Linked DNA regions of Homo sapiens: all the other regions are linked to region 1. The links are contacts of gene promoters, found by promoter capture Hi-C in human tissues and cell types (Jung and others, 2019). All regions are on one chromosome and are shown on one strand. The core of a region is centred on a gene start or on the middle of the fragment in contact, and the rest is flanking DNA. Distances in the headings are between cores, read along the strand shown. Region 1 holds the start of AUTS2 (activator of transcription and developmental regulator AUTS2). Region 2 has its middle 150 kb from the start of CT66. Region 3 overlaps AUTS2 (activator of transcription and developmental regulator AUTS2). Region 4 overlaps AUTS2 (activator of transcription and developmental regulator AUTS2).

The links. Contacts are between HindIII fragments. The study calls those that stand out against the background at their distance.
Region 2: a fragment that was not itself captured here is called in contact with the fragment with the promoter of AUTS2 in region 1 in 1 of the 25 tissues and cell types used here (dorsolateral prefrontal cortex).
Region 3: a contact is called between a fragment that was not itself captured here and the fragment with the promoter of AUTS2 in region 1, in 1 of the 25 tissues and cell types used here (lymphoblastoid cells).
Region 4: a contact is called between a fragment that was not itself captured here and the fragment with the promoter of AUTS2 in region 1, in 2 of the 25 tissues and cell types used here (dorsolateral prefrontal cortex and lymphoblastoid cells).

What each region holds. Positions count from the first base shown.
Region 1 is chr7:69,596,729-69,600,205 of GRCh38, reverse strand. It overlaps AUTS2 (activator of transcription and developmental regulator AUTS2), which reads right to left and starts at 1,731. Exons shown (of 19, transcript NM_015570.4): 1 at 244-1,731. The coding sequence starts at 552. CT66 (cancer/testis associated transcript 66) reads left to right here and starts at 2,582. Exons shown (of 3, transcript NR_148927.1): 1 at 2,582-3,159. RefSeq lists silencers at 418-487, 1,652-1,731, 1,752-2,171 and enhancers at 1,252-1,301, 2,482-2,561. The HindIII fragment of the contact is 7,960 bases long and covers 1-3,477 here.
Region 2 is chr7:69,442,583-69,445,918 of GRCh38, reverse strand. No RefSeq gene overlaps it. Among named protein-coding and RNA genes, the nearest start is that of CT66, 150 kb to the left of the region's middle. The HindIII fragment of the contact is 6,974 bases long and covers 1-3,336 here.
Region 3 is chr7:69,849,990-69,853,644 of GRCh38, reverse strand. All of the region lies in intron 1 of AUTS2 (activator of transcription and developmental regulator AUTS2), which reads right to left. Among named protein-coding and RNA genes, the nearest start is that of AUTS2, 250 kb to the right of the region's middle. The HindIII fragment of the contact is 5,304 bases long and covers 1-3,655 here.
Region 4 is chr7:69,786,154-69,789,806 of GRCh38, reverse strand. The region is part of intron 1 of AUTS2 (activator of transcription and developmental regulator AUTS2); the gene reads right to left. Among named protein-coding and RNA genes, the nearest start is that of AUTS2, 190 kb to the right of the region's middle. The HindIII fragment of the contact is 5,822 bases long and covers 1-3,653 here.

The sequences.
Region 1 (3,477 bases), core at 482-2,981:
AGGGGGCGCAGGGGAAAGGCGAGCGAGGAAACGAGACCAGGCACGGCTTTGCGACTCCCTCCTGCTGCCTGTCTGCCCGCGCCCCCAGCTCCCCCCACCAACAATAAGACCTCAGCCTAGACAGACAGACAGACAGACAGACAGACAGACAGCCCGGAGCGCGGCGAGGGAGGCAGGAGAGCCGGGCGCAGCCGAGTGGGGTCGTGCATAAAGGGAACCCGGGGGAAGGGGGGTCCCCCTTACCTCCAGCGCTTCAAAAGTGACAAAGCTGGTCATGGCAAATCCATCAATGATGTCCTCTTCTGCCGAGGTGGACTCTCTCCGCTTCCTCCGCGGGGGTCTGGGCCGGGACGGGGCGGAGGACGGGGGCTTCCCATTGTCTTCCTTGTCGGAGCCCGACGACGAGGCGAGTGAGAGCGCCCGGGTCCGGCCAGCCCCGCCGCCGCCGGCCGCGCCGGCCCCCAGCCCGCCCCGGGAGCGCCTCTCCCGGTCTCGCTGCGACCGCGACCGCCGCTTTTTGCGGAGTCCATGGCCCCGCGTCGGGCCATCCATGGTTCTGCTGCGCCGGGGTCTCCCCGCTTGCCCGCCACAGGCTACGGCCGCAGCCACACAAAAAAAAATTGACACCGAGCCCTCCCTCCCCCTTCACGGCTTCCCTCCGCCCCGAGGAGGGCGCGGGGGAGACGGCGGCCGAAAGAAGGGAGAGAGGGGAAGAAAGAGAGGAGAAAGAAAAGGGGGAAGGGGCGGAGAGAGGGGAGGAGGGACGGGGAGCGAGGGCGAGAGGCGAGGAGCCCAAGTGTGGGGCTCCCCACAGCACCGAGGGTCGGAGATGCCTGGGAGCAGCGCCGAGCAAAGTAATGGCTGAACACACAGGTCTCCTTTAGAGGAAAAAAAAATAACTCACCAAGCAAGCAATAAATCAGAATAGCGGAATGCTTTGATCAAGAGACTGGGAGGCTCCGGGGAGCCCTCCCCGCGGCCATTCTCCGCCGCGCCCCCCGCCCCCCGAAAACGCCCGCGCCCCCCTCAACTCGATCCAAAATCGGGTCCGAAAAAGGTCGCGGGAAAAGTGGGGGCAATGAACTTCACCCGCCCCTCGCGCAGGAAAACACCCCCGCCGCCTCTCACACACGCCTCGGAGAAAACTCACTCCCAGGCTCCCAAATTTTTAAGAAATGCAGCCAGGGGAGGCCGGGGCTCCGGAGCGACCCAAGAGGGGCGAGACCCCCCAGAGAGGGGAGCATAATAATGCAATCATTAGCGGAAGAGAGGGCGAAACTGCGAGCGGCGGAGGAGAAGGGAGGCGGAGGAAGGGAAGGAGGATGCTGCTGGAGCAGTTGTGGGGTTTGCTTTTCGGTCTTCGAGGGGGGAGGAGAGGGAGATGAAAGAAGAGAAGAAGCAAACCCTGTCGCTGCCACCCGCCCCCCTCCTCACAAAAATATTTTTTCCAGTCCCAGAGAAGAGGTCACCCTTCCTCAAAAAAGGGAGGGGGTGAGTCAGTCAGTCGATGAGGAAAGCAGAAAGAAATCTCCAGCGGGAGAGACACCGGTGTGCCGCCGCCGCCGCCGCCGCTTCTCTCGCCGCCCCGCCTGAGGGAGAAGCGCAGCCGGGAACGCTGCTCTCGCCGCCGCCGCTAACGCTGCTGCTGCTGCCGCCGCCGCCGCCGAGAAAGCCCCGAGCCGGAGGGTGCACGGCGTGTCCCCGGGCGGCTGCAGCGGGAGCCCGGGCACTGCCCCATCCTCCGCCCGCCCGCCTGCCTCGCGCAGCTCCCGCTCCTCCCCCTCCGCGGCCAGCCCACCGCCGCCGCCGCCGCCGCCGCCCGCCTCAGCCCAACCCCGCGCCCGCCCGCTCGCTCGCTCGCTCGCTCGCTCGTTCGTGCTTTCGCTCGCTCGCTCGAGTGCGCGCGCTCCCGCGCACCCGCCCTCCCCGCGCCTCTCTCGGCGCGCGCTCCCGCCCCCGCGGCCCCGGCCGGCGGGATCACGTGGACGGCTGGGCTCCCTCCTCCCCCGCCCCCTCCCCAGTTGTAGAGTGTGTAGAAAGCAAAAGGCTGGGGGCTGGCCGCGCTCGCGAGCCCAGGGCATGCGCGCTGGGGCGGCCGGGCCTGCGCACTGGGGGCGGTGGGGAGCTGTGAGGGGGGCGGGGGCGGGGGCGTGGAGGGGGCGCCCGCGTGGGGTCGGCCGCGGCCGGGCAGAGTTGGCGCGCCAGGGCGTGGAAGCCGCCGGAGGATCCCGCCTGTCGCAGCGGGGACGCGTGTGGGCCCCTGCTCCCAGGCCACTTCGCGCGCGCGCCCCCCACATCCTCCTCGGGACACTTGTCCCTGGATCCTCTACCCCTGGCCGGCCCGAGGCCGCCTTCTCGGGAAGCCCCACCAGCCCCCAAGGGTGTTTTCCCTTGGCTACCTGCGCTGCGAGGAGAGAAGGGAATTCAGAGAAGGGGTACAAGGGGGGCGTCCCTGGGAGGGGGCGCGACTGGAGGAGACAGAACGGGGAGCGGGTGCCAAAGCGCGGGCCTTTGCTCCGCCTGGGCGCAGTGGGAGCACCAACTGGCAGAGTTGGAAACTTTTCCTCCACGTGGCACCACAGTGCGTGGACGAGCGACCCCGCGCCCGGATGACCCCTGGGATTCCCGCCTCGTCTTCCAGCGGGGGACCTAGGGACGCACGGGCGGCTTCAGATCCGGGAGCGCGAGGCCTAACAGCCGGGGGCCGAACTTGAACCTCGGAGGCGGCCGCGGGCGAGGGGCGGGGCCGAAGGGGCCGGGACCGCCGCCCCAGCTCGAGGACCCGTTAGACCGGCAAACCGCAGTCCCTGCCCCGCGGGCTTCCTTTACTTTTTGGGAGTGGGGGGCGGTTTCCCTGCTTTTTCCACCACAGCCCCTCCTCCCGCCGCAATGTGGCTGATGCTCATAAAAAGTTGTATTAAAGAGCTGACTGCAGCCGAGAATCGATCAACAAAAGCGACCAGCCTCTCTGGGTAAAATAGCTGTGCGTTTTTCAGGGCACTGGAATTGATCTATACGGATCAGAAAGACCGACAGCCCGCTCTCAGCAGCCTCTTGGATACGCTTCACTTTCTGTCCAGGCACATAAACACCACGGCACCAACCCTTCGTCCTCCCTAGTAGCCCATACTTGTGGAGGAAGAAAAGGAAAATAAACTGGCATGTATTAATTACAATGGGCCAGGCACCGTGCTAGAGCGCTGTGTATATGATTTCACCTCTTTAGAATACAAATGTGCACATTTTATTAGTATTACTGGAAGGAGGGTGGTAGAGAAAACAGTAAGGACGTGTTTTCTCTCACAATCTGACACATCTATGATTGAGTGATTGATTGTTTTTCATTTAACAATTATTAGGCCTTACCAGGCTTAGCAGGCACAGTTGTAGGTGCTGGGAATACAGCGTTGTACAAAACAGAAAAGATACTGCTTCTTGACGTTCTAGCAGGCAAGCCTCTCTCGTCTTATAATTCCT
Region 2 (3,336 bases), core at 31-2,530, 150 kb after region 1:
TCACCATTCTGATCACGCCCTTGCTCTGTTTAAGATTCTGCAGCGGGGCCTGCTTCTTATCAGATCATTCCAGGCTCCCTGTTCTTTTATCAGCCATCGTACTTATGCCCCACTGCTGCGCAGGGCAGACCTGGTGCTGCTCAGGCCGAAGCCTCTCTGTTCTTGTTACAGCAAGGCCACGTTCGTGCGTTTGCCGGTGCAGAGCAGTTTTGTTGGTCAGACCTACTGACAAAACCCTCCCGGATCATTTCTGGAACACGTCTCCTCCTACTGATTTGAGTCACCTCCTGGGGGAATTTTAAAATTTGAATCAGGAGCACAGAGGGAGAGAGGGAGAGGTCTGGAAGTCACAGTTCTAGCAAAGATGAGTCTGGGCAGATAGAAGTTGGAATCCAAGGTCTTTCTTTGAACACACAGTTCTGAGAGGTGGAGGTGGGGATGACATCAAAATCACAGGCCAAGTGAGAGGGAAGCACTGAGCTGACCTGATGGTTTTGGCATGACTTGGGCAAACGAGCGAGTGGGATTAGCACAGCCGATGAATGCAGTTAAATGCTGTGCACTGTGAAACACACACGGGCATGCAGGTGGCCTTGGAGAGGTGATGAAAATTTGTCACTTGAAAAAAAAACAACAGCCAGGCGTGGTGGTGGCTCATGCCTGTAATCCCAGTACTTTGGGAAGCCAAGGCAGAAGGATCACTTGAGCCCAGGAGTTCGAAACCAACCTGGGCAACAAAGTGAGACCTCATCTCTATAAAAAATTTAAAAAATTATCTGGGCATGGTGACATGCACTATGAGTCCAAGCTACTCAGGAGGCTGAGGCGTGAGGATTGCTTGAGCTCAGGAATTTGAGGCTGCAGTGAGCCGAGATTGCGTCACTGCACTTCAGCCTGGATGACAGAGCAAGACTCTGCCTTAAAAAAAAAACAAAAAAAAAAAACCCAAAAAACCCCCCAAAAAATTAATCCCCAATGTTGGAGGTGGGTCCTGGCAGAAGGTGTTTGGGTGTTTGGATCATGGGGGGCAATCCTTCATGAATGGTTTGGTGCCCTCCTTAAGGTAATAAATGAGTTCTCAGTCCACTAGTTCCCTAGAGATCTGATTGTTTAAAAGAATCTAAGAGGCTAGGCATGGTGGCTCACGCCTGTAATACCAACACATTGGGAGGCTGAGGCTGGAGGATTGCTTGAGCCCAGAAATCCAAGACCAGCCTGAGCAACATGGCAAGATCCTGTCTCCACACAAAAAAATTTTTAAAATTAGCCAGGGAGGGTCATGCAGGCCTATAGTCCCAGATACTTAGGAGGCTGAGGCAGGAGGATCACTTCAGCCCAGGAGGTCAAAGCTAGAGTAACCATGTTCACACCACCTTGCTCCAGCCTGGGTGACGAGTGAGATCCAGTCTGAACGAAAAAACCATAAGTGTCTGGCACCTCCTCCCGCCTCTCTCTTGCTCCCTCTCTCGTCTCATCATGTGACACACTGGCTCCCCTTTGCCTTCCACCATGACTGGAAGCTTCCTGAGGTCCTCACTAGAAGCAGATGCTGGCACCATGCTTCTGTACAGCCTGCAGAACCGTGAGCCAAATAAACCTCTTTTCTTTATAAATTACCCAGCCTCAGGTATTCCTTTACAGCAATGCAAAATGGACAAAGACACCCCTGCTTCTATCATACAATTGTGATAACTAATTGAGATACCTATAAAGTACTTAACATAGTGCCTAGAACCTAGTAAATAATAAATGTTTGCTCTTATTAAATTTTAATTATTATAGGTCATTTAGAAACCATGCACTATAAAGTATTTAGAAAGAACTTGGTAGTAATTTTTGGAAAAAACATTTTCTCCAAGCACTGTTTAAAACAGCTCAACTTGGGCCAGGTGAGGTGGCCATGCCTGTAATCCCAGCACTTTGGGAGGCCAAGGTAGGCAGATCACTTGAGGGCAGGAGTTCAAGACCAGCCTGGGCAATATGACAAAACCTCATCTCTACTAAAAATACAAAAATTAGCTGGGCGTGGTGGCATGTCCCTGTAATCTCAGCTACTCGGGGGGCTGAGGCATGAGGATTGCTTGAGCCCAGGAGGCAGAGGTTGCAGTGAGCCCAGATTGCGCCACTGCACTCCAGCCTGGGAGACAGAGTGAGACTCTATCAAATAAATAAAACAGCTCAACTTAACTTAGGTAAAGGACCTAAGTAACTTCAAGAAATTTGTTTCCAGTCTCAGATATTTGCCTCCTCTGTGCAAAGAATGAATATTTGCTGGAAACCTGTAGAGACCACTGGCTGGCAGCTGTTCTGACAGACGGTGAAGAGGTTGGGGGCAGGGTGAGGGACACAGCCAGGTTGGCATTTTGACTCAAAGGCCACGCTCCTACCTGAAGCCAACTTATTTCTCTGAAGCTTTTGGTTCTAGCTTGGTCTTTATCTACACCCAGGATTTAAAAAAAAAAATGAGAAATTAAGAGTTATTTATAACTCACCTGTTTTGCTTCAGCTTTAGAAATAGTAACGGTTAGTGGTTTAGGCTTTTTTTCTCTTTTCTTCTTTTTCTTTTTTAGAGACAGAGTCTCACTCTGTCACCCAGGCTGGCATGCAGTGGTGTGAGTAAGTTAGCAACTGGTATGACCACAGAGTTCATACTGTTATGGACAAAATTATGTCCTCTCCCCAAATCTATATGCTGAGGTCCTAACCCCCAGTACCTCACAATGTGACTGTATCTGGGGATCGAATCTCTAAAGAGGTGATTAAGTTAAAAATGGGGCCATAGGGTGAGTCCTAATCCAATCTGACTGGTGTTTTTATAAGAAGAGAAGATTTGGACACGGAGACACTGGGGGCACTCGCCCACAGAGGAAAGGCCACCTGTGGACACAGTGAGAAGGCGGCCGTCTGCAAACCAAGGTGACAGGTCTCAGAATGGACCAACAGTGCCAACATCTTGATCTCGAACTTCCGGCCTCCAGAACTGTAAGAAACCACATTTCTGTTATTTAAGCTACTTAGTCTGTAGTATTTTATTATGGCAGCCCAAATGTATTAGCCTGTTCTCACGTTGCTAATAAAGACATATCTGACACTGGGTAATTTATAAAGAAGAAAGGTTTAATGGACTCACAGTTCCACATGGTTGGGGAGGCCTCACAATCATGGCTGAATGCAAATGAGGAACAAAGTCATGTCTTACATGGCAGCAGGCAAGAGGGCTTGTGCAGTACTCCCATTTATAAAACCATCAGATCTCGTGAGACTTAGTCACTACCATGAGAACACAATGGGGGAAACAGCCCCCATGATTCAATTATCTCCACCTGGCCCCATCTT
Region 3 (3,655 bases), core at 439-2,938, 250 kb before region 1:
GCCTGGGTCTTCTAACACACCAATAATTTCATTAAAGGTACAGTGACTAAATATACCAATTAAAATACAGATTGGTTGAATGAATAAAAAAGCATGAACTATATGCTATCCATAAACTCACTTCAAGTATAATGATAAATATATGTAAAAAGTAAAAATATGAAAAATATATACAATGAAAACAGTCAAAAGAAAACAGGAGTACCTACATGAATAAAATAAGTAGACTTCAGAACATAGAAAATTAGTAGAAACAGAGAGGGACATTAAAAATGATATGTAAGTCAATCAATCAAGCAAATATAGTAATCCCAAATGTATTTGTGGCAAAAAAATGGAGTTGTAAAGTGTGAAGCAAACACTGACAGAACTGAAAAGAGAAATAGACAAAAGGTAGTTGGAGACTAAAATGCCCCTTTATCAACAATTAATTGATAGAGCAACTAGACAGAAAATCAGCAAATGTAAAAGATTTCAACAATGCCATCAACAGGCTAGGATCTAACTGACATTTATAGCACACTACACTTAACAAAGCATAAGCCACATTTTTTTTTAAATGACCTCAGAACAAATAACATAGACCATATCCTGGGATATAATACAAACCTTAGCAAATTTAAAAGAACTGAAATCATATACAGTGTATTCTCTGACCACAATGAAAGAAAAGCAGACATAAATAACAGAAAGATAACAGGAAAATCTAAAAAAACTTGGGAACTAAAAAACACACTGGCAAATAATCTATGGGTCAAACAGGAAGCCTCAAAATAACTTAAACAATGACCTGAACTGAATGAAAATGAAATTACAACATACCAAGTTTAGGGGACACAAGCAGTACTAACGGTAAACTTTTAGCAATAAATGATAACATTAGAAAAGCAGGGGCCGGGCACGGTGGCTCACACCTATAATCCCAGCACTTTGGGAGGCTGAGATGGATGGATCATCTGAGGTCAGGAGTTCAAGACCAGCCTGGCCAACATGGTGAAACCCTGTCTCTACTAAAAATACAAAAATTAGCCGGGCATGGTGGCAGGCACCTGTAATCCCAGCTACTCAGGAGGCTGAGGCAGGAGAATCGCTTGAGCCCAGGAGGCGGAGGTTGCAGTGAGCAGAGATTGAGCCGCTGCACTCCAGCCTAGGAATCTGAATCTGAATCTCACTCCAGAGTGAGATTCTGTCTCGAAAAAAAAGAAAAGAAAACAGGGAAAGCAGACACTTTCCAATTTTTATGAAGCTACTATTACCCTAAAAATACCAGCAAAGAAAAAAAAAATCACATACTACCTCTTATAAACACAAAAGTCCTTAACAAAATATTAGTAAACAAAATTTAGCAATATATAAAAAGAATTATACATCCTGACCAAATGGGATTTATTCCAGGGATGCAAAGCTGGTTCAATATTCAAAAACCAATCAACATAATCCATCATAGTTGATGCAAAAAAGCATTCAATACATATTTATAAAAACCAAGAATAGAAAGGAATTTCCTCAGCTTCAAAGAACAACTACCCAAAAACCTACAACTAACATCAAATTTAGTAGGGAAAGACCTAATGCTTGTTCACTTCAGATTTGGAACAAGACAAGCATGTCCACTCTCACTACCACTATTCAGCATAGTACTGAAGCTCCAACCAGCATAATAAGGCAATAAAAGGAAAAGGTATATCAGAAAGTAAATAATAAAACTGTCCCTGTTTATAGATGACATGCTCGTATAGATGATATGCTTACAAAAATCCCAAAAAATCTAAATAAAAACTCCTAGAAGTCAACTCTGCAAAGTTGAAGACCAACATGCAAAAACAAATTGTATTTCAATATACTAACAATGAACACAGGAAAAGCAAAATCAAAATTACAATGTTATGTATAATGTCTCAGAAAAATGAAATATTTAGATGCAAATCTAACAAAAGATGTATAGGACCTGTATGCTAAAAACTACAAATTGCTGATGGAAAGAAATCAAAGATGATCTAAATAAAAGGAAAGGCATATAGTGTTCATGGATGGGAAAGTTCAGTATAGCAAAGATATCAAATCTCCCAAAATTGATATGCAGATTTCACATATGGGCCAGGCGCAGTGGCTTACGCCTGTAATCCTGGCACTTTGGGAGGCGAAGGTGGGGGGATTGCTTGTGTCCAGGTGTTTAAGACCAGCCTGAGCAACATGGCGAGACACTGTCTCTACAAAACATAAAAATAAAAGTATTCATCATAATTCCTATCAAAATCCCTGCAAAATTTTTGTAAATACGTTCAAGATTGTTCTAAAAATTTACATGGAAAGAAACTAGAATACCTGAAACTATTAACAAAAAAGAATACAGTAAGAGGAATCACTCTATATGATTTCAAAACTTACTAAATAGTTATACTGTAATCAATACAGTAAGGGACTGGCGAAGGGACAGACACGCAGATCAACGGACAGAATAGAGAACCTAGAAACAGTCCCACAAAACTATGGCCAACTGATATTTGACAACGATCCAAAAGCAATTCAATGTTAGAAGAAATGCCTTTTAAACAGTGTTGAAGCAATTAGATTATTCATAGGCAAAAAATAAATAAGCCTCAACCTAAACCTCATACTTACACAAAACTTAATTTAAAATGGGTCATACATTTAAATGTAAAATGTAAAGCTTAAGCTTCTGATGAAGACATAGGAGCCAATCTTCAGGACCTATGGGTTTGGTGAAGAGTTTCTTAGACATGACATCAAAAGCATACTCCATAAAATAAAATGCTGATAAATTTGACCTCACCAAAATTAAAAACCTTTGCTCTGCAAAGCATCCTGTTATAATAATGAAAAGCCAAGCTCCAGACTGAGAAAATATTTGCAAACCATACATCAGACAAGATACTGATATCTAGAATACATAAAGAACATTTCAAAACTTAACAGTAAAAGTCAAATAATCCAAAAGAATGGGCAAAAGACATGAACAGACATTTCATCAAAGAGGACATACAAATGGCAAATAAGCACATAAAAATGTCTGCCATCACTAACCATTAGGGAAATCCAAATTAATCACAATGAGATATCATTACACACCTATCAGAACAGCCATATTAAAAAACAGCAACAATTCCAAATCCTGGCAAGGATGCTGATTCCCTCATACACTGCTGCTGGGAATGTACAATGGTACAGTCACTCTGGAAAAGTCTGACTTTTTTTTTTTTTTTTTTTTTTTTTTTTTTTTTTTTTGAGACAGAGTTTCGCTCTGTTGCCCAGGCTGGAGTGCAGTAGCATGATCCGGGCTCACTGCAACCTCCGGGTTTTTTTGTTTTTGTTTTTGTTTTTGTTTTTTTGAGACAGAGTGTCACCCTGTTGCACTGGAGTACACTGGTGCAATCTCAGCTCACTGCAACCTCTGCCTCCTGGGTTCAAGCTATTCTCCTTCCTCAGCCTCCCGAGTAGCTGGGACTACAGGCGCATGCCACTACGCCCGGCTAATTTATTTTTGTATTTTTAGTAGAGATGGGGTTTCACCATGTTGGCCAGGCTGGTCTCAATCTCCTGACCTCAGGTGATCCACCCGCCTCGGCCTCCCAAAGTGCTGGGATTACAGGTGTGAGCCACCGCGCCCAGCCAAGTCTGACATTTCTTAAAAACC
Region 4 (3,653 bases), core at 539-3,038, 190 kb before region 1:
TCCTTTTCTCACTGGAGAGACAACTGGCATCCCCCCAAGACAACAGTCTATCCATGGCCAGAAAAAGATCTGAGTTCCAAAAGGAATCTTAACGTACTCTGAAATATGTGATTTAGGGCTGTGGAAACGTCAAGCCCCTACTTCATCTGATGTTCTATATTCTCCAACAGCCACAATGAGGTCTGCTAATGTTGATCCTAAGCTGCTGCTTAACAAGTACTTTGGTTCTGACAACACTCCTATAGGCCAAGAAAGGTGCAGTAGCCCTGGGTCCCAGCAGAAATACAAGTCTCAGAGTTCTAAGAGAATGTTAACAGAAACAACAGGGACTTACTTAAATTAATAACAGGGAATATCAGCATTCTAGGACTACCCCTTTGAGAAATCCAGCTAAGATAATTAACGTTAAAGATCATCTAACGCACTGATTCACACTTAGCTAACCTTTGGAATCAGTTTTACAAAATATTGATACTTGGGGCTCACCATCAGAGATTCTGACTGAATTGGTCTGGATGCAGCCTGGGCATACATTTTTTTTAAGTGCCCCCACGTAATTCTGATGTGCATTGAAGTTTGAGAGCCATTGCTGAATGGAAATTGTCCACACAAGCAAACCCAAAAAGCTTAGCTGCACTCTGTCAAAGTGGCCTTAAATGCTGCATTCTTGATATAAGGTAAACACCAAAAAGTCACCCACACTAGGAGTTCTGCATCTGCTTGAAAACTTGTTGATGGCATTAAACATTAATTTCTTTAATACTCCTTGCCTAAAGACTTGCATAAATTCCTTCTATAATTGGGTTTTAAGAAAGACTTTACATCTTCTTAGAAACCTGATATGTTTCCTGTTGTTGGAAAACAAAAACCAAGTGTCCTATCGTTTCCCTTATAACTCAGAGTGCTAGACGCGTCAGAGCTGAACCGGACAGCTAATCAGAGTATTTGTTCCCCAGTGTATTTGATTCTTATTCTGTCTATGCAAGTTTTGATTATTCTTTTTTTAAGGGGCATAGAAGTGTCTTTTTTTTTTTTTAATTTTGCTTCAAGGCCACTGGAGGAATAGACAAATGCAGAATTATGAATAATGGTCAAGTAATGAAGGCTGACTTTTAGGGAATCTTCTCTGTTAATTTCTCAGACTTTCTACTTACTTAGATGCTTCTGTTCTTGAAGAGCTGCACAAAAACCAAGTGCCCTTCAGGTTAAACTGTATTCAAACAATACCAGAGGAACGCTACTGTAAGGACTTTAGAAAAGTGAATAATCACTTTCATTTATTTCCCTGGATTTGGGCTTTTGTGCATAAAGTTTCTTTAGATTGAAGCCTGCCCAGACTTCACAAACTCCAAGTGTAATCTCTGACACCATGCTGCTGCCCTTCCCCTGAAGCCTCTATTTTAGTTTCCCCCAAGCCTGCTACTCTTGGCAAAGTAACTTCCACCTTCTTCCTTTGCACCCTCTTTCATAGGGCTGAATTAATGAGCCTGCAAGCTGGGGGCAATGTCTCTCCACAGCTGTCTTTTCAAGCAATTATTTAGGGACAGAGAAGGAAGTCATTAACAATCCTGGGAGTCAGCCAGAGACAACTCTGCCACACAATATACTCAGATAGGGCCCTGGGCCAAAAGGTCATTTTTTACTGGGGGCTTGAGGTGGGGTGGGGTGGGGTAACAAAGTAGTACAGAGAAGAGGATAAGAGAGCAGGTTTTTACGATATTTTTCTGGCATCTTCACCAAGAGCAATTTCTTCTGTAAAAGAAAAAGTCTAGCTGAACCAATCAGGAATTCATTCAAGGGTGATTCCAGGCAAGAGGGAAGGAATGCCAGTGAGAATAATGCCCCTCTGAAAAATCTGTCCTTAATAAAAGTTCCACTTCATTCCTAGGAGGCTGGGGAAGTAGGTAAAACTGGTGCCAAAATGTTGTAACAGCTAGGCGCAGTGGCTCAACGCCTGTAAGCCCAGCACTTTGGGAGGCCAAGGTGGGCGGATCACCTGAAGTCAGGAGTTCGAGACCAGCCCTGGCCAACATGGTGAAACCCCATCTCTAGTAAAGTTGGGGGAAACTAAAATAGAGGCTTCAAAAATTAGCTGGGTATGGTGGCACGCCTGTAATCCCAGCTTCTTGGGATTACAGCTGAGGCAGGAGAATCACTTGAACCCAGGAGGTGGAGGTTGCAGTGAGCAGAGATCATGCCACTGCACTCCAGCCTAGGCAACAGAGTGAGACTCTGTGTCAAAATAAAATAAAATAACTACTATAATAAATGCTAGTGAAGGTTATTCAAAAATATGCCTGACTAGTAAAACCAAAATGTTTTACACAAGGTGGCAGATTCCTCTTGCTCTACTCGTCTCGCCAACAAAAGACTTTAAGTGCTTTAGAGAGAAAGATCCTGATACTACTTCTGGTTAGAATTTCTCCTCTCTGGTAAAACTAGGCTATCTTTCTATGACAGAAAAAGAGTGTCTAGATTTTCCTTGTTTCTTAATAAAGACAAGTTCTAGAGTCATCTTTCTTTTCCCTTCTCCTGAAATAGACTATGTTATGTAAAGATGTTTTGAGAAACCAGTCAAACTTGGGTCTGGTCATCAGAGTGCATGTTCCTCCTCTGATTTTAGAACAACGTCAGGAGCAAATCAGTGTCTCTGTGATCTCAAGAGTCTTGGAAAACCATTAGAGAGGGAAAGCTCTGTGAGAAACATAATTGGATCAAATGCTGAAAGCCAGAAAGAGCTGAGTTCAAATTTTAGTTCTGATAGTAGGCAACGTCCTTAACCTCAGAGTTTCAGTTTACTTGCCTATAAATGATACCAAACCTCAACTGATAGGCTTGTTTTCAAACTTTTTAGAGCATGACACATAAAAATTTCTGATGTCTGCCTGCATGCACATACACTTAAAACAAGTTTTTTTGAAACAATACACACACTAAGTGTAGTATACTCTGATGTCATCTATTTGATTCTATTTTTTAAACTGAATAAAATAAAATTCTGACTGTCACCCACTAATGGATTAAGATATGCAGTTTAAAAAATCATTGTGACAGGTCAGGCACGGTGGCTCAGGCCTGTAATCCCAGCACTTTGGGAGGCCGAGGCGGGTGGATCACCTTGTGTTCAGAGTTAGTTCCTTCTGGTGGGTTCTTGATCTCGCTGACTTCAAGAATGAAGCCACAGACCTTCGTGGTGAGTGTTACAGCTCTTAAAGGTGGCACGGACCCAAAGAGTGAGTAGCAGCAAGATTTAGAGTGAAAGAACAAAGCTTCCACAGCATGGAAGAGGACCCAAGCGGGTTGCCACTGCTGGCTGGGGTGGCCAGCTTTTATTCCCTTATTTTTCCCCACCAATGTCCTACTGATTGGTCCATTTTACACAGTGCTATTGGTCCATTTTACAGAGTGCTGACTGGTGCGTTTACAATCCTTTAGCTAGACACAGAGCGCTGACTGGTGCGTTTTTACAGAGTGCTGACTGGTGCATTTACAATCCTTTAGCTAGACGCAGAGCGCTGATTGGTGCATTTTAACAGAGTGCTGATTGGTGCATTTACAATCCTTTAGCTAGACACAGAGTGCTGATTGCTGCATTTCTACAGAGTGCTGATTGGTGCATTTACAATCCTTTAGCCAGACACAGAGCACTGATT